Linked DNA regions of Homo sapiens: region 2 is linked to region 1. Evidence: promoter capture Hi-C in human tissues and cell types (Jung and others, 2019). All regions are on one chromosome and are shown on one strand. The core of a region is centred on a gene start or on the middle of the fragment in contact, and the rest is flanking DNA. Distances in the headings are between cores, read along the strand shown.

Region 1 (3,730 bases), core at 408-2,907:
TGTTTCTCAGGAATCACCTGCGGGCCCTCTAAGCCAGGCCCTCGTCTCCCTTCATTTCCTCTGGGCCCTTTACCCTTCACCCCTTTCCCTCTACCCCGTAGCTTCTGCCTCTTAGGTTCCCAAGGAAGGGAAGTTGTCTGAGGAGCAGGGATGCACTTGGCTCTGCTGGGCACTGACCCTGGCACTCTCTATGCCCGGTGCCCTGTGGTCTGGCTCTTGCTGAGGATGCAGAAGGGAGCCCTACCCGAGGCAGCCCGGAATGCCCCACCCTCGAAGGGGAAAAAGGCAAGCATGAGGCCAGCGTGCCTCTAAAACTACACACCAGGGCTCCTGGAGGGCAGGGCCCATAATCAAAAGAATAATAAACAACCATCTGAATGGGCCAAGGCTGTAGGGTGGAGAAGCAGCTCTACAGCGGGACCTAAGCTGCCAACCCACGCCCTGATAAGGTCTGCGGTGGGAATTAAACCTTTTCCTCCCTCGGTGCCGCTTAGGCTGTGTGATGATCATGTGGTCCCAACAGCTTCTCAGAGAAGTGTGAAGCACACCTGAGTTGGCACAGAAGTGAGCTAGGCCAGGGATTGCAAGATGCGGTGGCCTGCCCGTAGCAGAGAGCTGTGGGGCCCTGATCCGCGGTACCCCGCATGGGGACGCTGTCACAGAGCAAGGCAGGAGGAAAATGTGGTGGTCAGTGACCCGGGGAATAGGAAGGGAGCAGCTAGGGTTGAGATGCCAGGCCCTGGCCAGCAGGTTTGGAGTAAGGGGTGTAGAGAAACAGGAAGTGTTACTCAGCCTGGGTTCCCCTGTTCCTCCCGATGGCTGCACCCCTCCCCTCTCCCCGGCTGCAGCAGTCCCAGCTAGGCCGGACTGCTAAGCCTGGCCCAGAGCACGGCTGACAATTCACGGCAGCCTCCCTGGCCCAGCCTCCTGCAAGAGAAGGAGGACCCCAGAGGAAGCCCGGTAGCCAGAGGGGAAGGGCTGGAGCACAGCCAGGTAGGAGGCAACACGGCCCGGCCTTCAGCAGCCGCTCTCCTGGCAGGAGCCCTCTAGGGTAAAACAAGGGAGGACAAGGAAATAGCAGCCAGGCTGATGGCAGGCCAAGAGGAGGCCACATCTCCCATCCCCAGGTTAATGCTGCTCTGCCAAGAAAACTTGGAGCCACCCTTGGCGGGCCCCCAGCCCAACCCTGGGCAGCAGAGCCCGCCCATCACAGGCATGGCGCTGCTCCCCATTAACACACCCTCTGCCCCCCTTCCTGTTCCTGCTCGTGAGGGCCTGACAGCGGGGCTGAGTCACCCATACCAGCTACAGGTCTCTTCCTTCCCCAACAATCGTTCCACACGCCTGCCTTTCAATTAACTCCCACCCGCCCCGAACTCTTCCTACCCAGACACTGTGGGCAGGGAGCCAGGCGCACCTGCTGGGGGCCCAGGGTGGTGGGGCTGTGATCAGAAAGGAAGCCGCGTGGTGACACATAAAGCAGGGCTGCCCCCACACGAGTCCCCAGAGGAATCTTAAGCTCCCCATTGCCCTGGGGTGTTGGTCCCAGCTGCCCCATCCCTGCACGCGGATGCTGCAATTACCCAAGAGCACGAAACCTGGCTTCCCACCTGACTGAGTCAGCTGAGAACAAAAACACATCTCCACCGCCACAAACAGCCAGGCCACTCATCAGAGTCCGGGAGCCACTGGCAGAGAGGGCACGGCCCCACACTGCCCCAGAGACATATAGGAGCCAGGCAAACACCAGGGCGAGTGAGCTCGGGCCATCTGCTGCCTGCCTGTGGAAGGAGCGCTCGCCAGCCTCACCCAGCCCGAGAAGGTCCACCTCTGCCTCCGCCGGAGCTGCCCTCATTCTGGCTCCAGTAAGTGCTGCTTCTTCCTCCTGGGTTTTTTTCCACTACCCTATTCAGTAACCAGGCCACTCCTGTCCCTGTGGGAAACTCTTGCTGCCAGGAACTCCCAGCTGTCTGCTCTCCTGGGCAAAAAAGTTCCTTCTTCCTGAGCCCTCCTCTCACCATCCAAGATGTGGTCAAAGGTCTGTGCTGAGTGGAAACCCTGAGGCCTCTGCTCCTAGGGGAGCCTCCCCAGCTGCTGGCACTCACTGCCCCAGCAGGGACCACATGCACCCTGGCTGCTCCTGAACACCTGTCTGCTGGCTCCCCTGGGCCCCATGGAGACCTGGCGGAAAGGCTCCTTCCGCAACGCCTCCTTCTTCAAGCAGCTGAGCCTGGGGCGGCCACGGCGGCTCCGGCGACAGAGTAGTGTGCTTAGCCAGGCCAGCACAGCAGGTGGGGACCACGAGGAGTACAGCAACCGAGAAGTCATCCGGGAGCTACAAGGGAGGCCAGATGGCCGGCGCCTGCCACTGTGGGGGGACGAGCAGCCCCGGGCCACCCTGCTGGCCCCACCCAAGCCCCCACGCCTCTACCGAGAGAGCTCAAGCTGCCCCAACATCCTGGAGCCCCCACCTGCCTACACAGCAGCCTACTCTGCCACCCTGCCATCGGCGCTCTCTCTGTCGAGTGCCCTCCACCAGCACTCAGAGAAGGGCCTTGTGGACACTCCCTGCTTCCAGAGGACACCTACCCCAGACCTCAGTGATCCCTTCCTCTCCTTCAAAGTGGACCTGGGGATTTCACTTCTTGAGGAAGTTCTGCAGATGCTAAGGGAGCAGTTTCCTAGCGAGCCCAGCTTCTAAATGGGGTGAGGGTGGGCAAAGCCGGGGTGACTGGAAGATCCAGAGGCTGGGGATTAAGGAAAGGACAGGGACAGGACTCCAGGCCCATCGCTGGAGGGTTCAGGCAGGCAGAGCTTCTTCATCCTGGGGGAGGATTCCAGGATAGGAATCCAGGGCTCTGCCTGCTCTCTGGGTCCTGGACAGTCCTTCCAGGCACCCCAGAGTGGAGGGACAGAGGCAATCTGGAAATGTTGGGGGGGCGGCCCTTCCTGGCAGGACCCTGAAGAAAGCTGGCTATGCCGGGAAAGGGAGGCTGTGCCGGGAAAGGGAGGCTCTGTGCGGCACTACAGGAACCAGGTAGAGGCTGGCAGAGCCAGAAGGTGGCACGGGGTCAGATCAGGGAGTGGGAGGACACAGACTGAGCAGAAGAGATGAGTGCCCCATGCCAGCCTCTTTGGAAGCCACTGTCAACAGAGAGAGGTCACAGGACAAGCTTGGGTAAAGGCAGTCCAACCCAGGCAGAAGAGGAAAGTGGGAAGGCCCAGGAAGAAAGGGGAGAAGGCCTGACCCTGTCTAATCTGGTGGCCACTCACTGCATGACACTGAATTGAAATAAATAAAATTAACAGTTCAGTTCCTCAGCTGCACCGTTATTCCAGATTCCACATTCCAAATGCCCGGTGGCCACACATGATTAATGGCTACCACACTGGTCAGTGCAGAATGGACGTAAACATCGCTGCACAAAGTTCTAATGGACAGCGCTGTCTAGACCATGGCCTGGAGCCACCAGCAAAGGGGAGGCGCATACAGGGGCTGGCCACATAGGAAGAGATAGGTAGAGATAGAGTATAACTCAGGAAAAAGACCAGGCAAATCCTTAGCAGAAATGAGGACGTGGCTCAGTCTGCCAACACAGCTACCCGGAGCAATCCCTGGTGAAGGAAGGCAGCTCTAGAGAATGCCAGCCACAGGCACGCGCACGGCTTGCAAAGGGGTACTTTGGGGAATTCCCAGAATTACTAGTGATGGGAGCCCTGGCAGGTTTCC
Region 2 (3,508 bases), core at 800-3,299, 550 kb after region 1:
TACTAACAGCACACATTTACAGTTTTTTTTCCCACTTTAAAGTTAATTCTAAATAGAAATTGCTTAAGAATCTAGAAATTGGTGGCGCAGTGGCTCACACCTGTAATCCCAGCACTTTAGGTGGCCAAGGCAGGAGATCAAGACCATGCTGGCTAACACGGTAAAACCCCGTCTCTACTAAAAATACAAAAAAATTAGCCAGACATGGTGGCGGGCGCCTGTAGTCCCAGCTACTCGGGAGGCTGAGGCAGGACAATGGCGTGAACCTGGGAGGCGGAGCTTGCAGTGAGCCGAGATGGTGCCACTGCACTCCAGCTCCAGCCTGGGCGAAAGAGCAAGACTCCGTCTCAAAGAAAAAAAAAAAGAATCTAAAAATTGAGGCTGGGCATGGTGATTAATGCCTGTAATCTTAACATTTTGGGAAGCCCAGGCAGGAGAATCACTTGAACCCAGGAGGTGCAGGTTGCAGTGAGCTGAGATCATGCCATTGCACTTCCAGCCTGGGTGACAGAGTGAGACTCCGTCTTTAAAAAAAGAGAATGATCAATCCATCTCAGGATCTCAGGTATATATTTTGTGTTGGAAATTTGCAATGAAGAACAAATGGTATACCTAATGCACAGTGAGCAACCCATGGTAAAGGACTGGCTGATAAGTTTTATTGTTTAGTCAACCATAACTCAGCTAAAAACATCTATCTAAGCATAAGAAATGAGAAAAAGCGGCCGGGCGCGGTGGCTCATGCCTGTAATCCCAGCACCTTAGGAGGCCAAGGCGGGCGGATCACGAGGTCAAGGAGATCGAGACCATCCTGGCTAACACAGTGAAACCCCGTCTCTACTAAAAATACAAAAAATTAGCCAAGCGTGGTGGTGGGCGCCTGTAGTTCCAGCTACTTGGGAGGCTGAGGCAGGAGAATGGTGTGAACCCAGGGGGTGAAGCTTACAGTGAACCAAGATCACGTCACTGCACTCCAGCCTGGGCGCCACAGCAAGACTCCATCTCAAAAAAAAAAAAAAAAAAAAAGACATGAGAAAAAGGAAACCTTTTAGTTTTATGAAAGGAAAATAAGCTTTTGAGTTAAGACATGCTCAAATCTCAGCTCTTCCACCTCTTTGAGCCCTAGTTTTCTTAAACTATATTAAGAACTCAGTGATATAAGCATAATGCCTACATAAACTAGGTTGTCAATGCTTGTTTTTGTTTTTTAATGGTCAAGGAAAGACTTCTAAGGATGTTTCAGTTTCTTGTAATAAGTAAAAAAGCTTAAGTTAAAAGTGCAATTTATTAGGAAAATAATGAAATAGCCAATGTAATTCATGAGAAAGGATAACCAGTAGGGTAGTTTTTCTGACACTATGAGGCTACATGATCATTATTTTTACTTTTCTCTGTGTCTGCTTCATGTTTTACTGCAGAGAAGACTTCCCTGCAGCTACATGCATCACATGGGAAATAGCTATCCCATACATAGAGCTTTCACTTCCAAACTTCAACACTAGTACTATCTACACGTAACTGGTATTTCTGGGCCCTTGTTTCAAATTCCTAAGGTAGAAAACTGGTTGGCTTAGTTTGGGTCAGGTATCCATTTTTCTTTTTTTTTTTTTTTTTGAGACAGAGTCTCGCTCTGTTGCCAGGCTGGAGTGCAGTGGCGCGATCTTGGTTCACTGCAACCTCTGACTCCCCGGTTCAAGTGATTCTCCTGCCTCAGCCTCCCAAGTAGCTAGGATTACAGGCATGCGCCACCATGCCCAGCTAATTTTTTTTGTATTTTTAGTAGAGACGGGGTTTCCCATGTTGGCCAGGATGATCTCGATCTCCTGACCTCATGATCTGCCCACCTCGGCCTCCCAAAGTACTGGGGTTACAGGCGTGAGCTACCACGCCCAGCACCGTTTTTGGTTTTTAAGAGACAGGGTCTTGCTCTGCTCCCCATGCTAGAATACAGTGACACAATCATAGCTCACTGTAACCTTGAACTCCTGGGCTGTAGCTATCCTCCCACCTTAGCCTCCAGAGTAGCTAGGACTACAGGCATACACCACCATACACAGTTAATATTTTAAATTTTTTGTAGAGACAGAGTCTTGCTATGTTGCCTAGGCTGGTCTCAAACTCCTAAGCTCAAACAATCCTCCAACTCAGCCTTCCAAAGTGCTGAGATTACAGGCATGACCCACCATGCCTGGCCAGGTATTCATTCTTGATCCAGTACCTGGGAGTGGGAATCACACATGATACAAATCACACATGATACAAATATACAAGGCCCCACCTATTAGAGGGAGAGAGAGGCTGGGCACAAACCCAAAAGGTATCTACTGCAACATTATTTTGCAAAAGCTTGCCTTCTAGAATGTTCTTTTTATCTTTTATTTATTTTTATTTTTTCTGAGACAGAGTCTAGCTCTGTCACCCAGGCTGAAGTGCAGTGGCTTGATCTTGGCTCACTGCAACCTCCGCCTCCTGGGTTCAAGCAATTCTTCTGCCTCACCTCCCGAGTAGCTGCGACCACAGGCGTGTGCCACCACACTTGGCTTATTTTCGTATTTTAAATGGAGATGGGGTTCCACCATGTTGGCCAAGCTGGTCTCGAACTCCTGACCTCAGGTGAACCCCCGACCTCAGCCTCCCAAAGTGCTGGGATTACAGGCGTGAGCCACTGCACCCGGCCCATAAGGGAGCAGTTTGAGATGGGAGGCTTCACCATGTTGCCTAGGCTGGTCTCAAACACCAAGATTCAAGTGATCCTCCTGCCTCAGCCTCCTGGGTAGCTAGAATTACAGGCACACACCACCACATCTGGCAACAAGTTTCTTTAATGAAAGAATACCCTCTGAATTTTCCCATGGTATGACTTTTAAGATATGGTATGATAAGACATGGAAGATAATCATAATGTTATAAGATTATATTTTGGTCCCACTGCTTTTTTTTTTTTTTGTCACCCAAAGTGGAATGCAGTGGTATGATCACAGCAAAATGTAACCTTGAACTCCTGGGCTCAGGTGATCCTCCCACCTCAGCCTCCCAAGTAACTGGGACTATAGGGGCACGCCGCCACATCCAGCTAATTTTTTAAAATTTTGTATAAAAAAAAAACAGGAGTCTCACTATATTGCCCATGGAGGTCTTGAACTCCTGCCCTCAAGCAGTCCTCCCACCTTGGCCTCACAAAGCATTGGCATTACAGGCGCGAGCCATCACACCTGGCCCACTGCTATCTTTTTGTCAAAGACAGTGCCTGACTTTAGCATCTTTTTGGTACAAACACTTTGTCTTTTTTCTTTTTTTTTTTTTTGAGACAGAGTCTTGTTCTGTCACCCAGGCTGGAGTGTAGTGGTGCAATCTCAGCTCACTGTGCAACCTCCACCTCTCAGGTTGAAGCAATTCTCTTGCCGCAGCCTCCCAAGTAGCTGGGATTACAGGTGTGCACTAGCATGCCCAGCTACTTTTTTTTTTTTTTCCTTTGGACAGAATCTCACTATGTCTCCCAGGCTGGAGT

What was found. The method cuts DNA at HindIII sites, captures the fragments that hold promoters and counts their contacts. A contact is called where the count stands out against the background at its distance.
Region 2: a contact is called between a fragment that was not itself captured here and the fragment with the promoter of C15orf62 in region 1, in 1 of the 25 tissues and cell types used here (dorsolateral prefrontal cortex).

The regions. Positions count from the first base shown.
Region 1 is chr15:40,768,323-40,772,052 of GRCh38, forward strand. It overlaps C15orf62 (chromosome 15 open reading frame 62), which reads left to right and starts at 1,658. Exons shown (of 1, transcript NM_001130448.3): 1 at 1,658-3,730. The coding sequence starts at 2,174. The coding sequence ends at 2,701. All of the region lies in intron 10 of DNAJC17 (DnaJ heat shock protein family (Hsp40) member C17), which reads right to left. RefSeq lists enhancers at 319-937, 1,556-2,174, 2,128-2,217, 2,175-2,791. The HindIII fragment of the contact is 9,899 bases long and covers 1-3,730 here.
Region 2 is chr15:41,315,785-41,319,292 of GRCh38, forward strand. All of the region lies in intron 3 of OIP5 (Opa interacting protein 5), which reads right to left. Among named protein-coding and RNA genes, the nearest start is that of OIP5, 15 kb to the right of the region's middle. The HindIII fragment of the contact is 5,957 bases long and covers 1-3,508 here.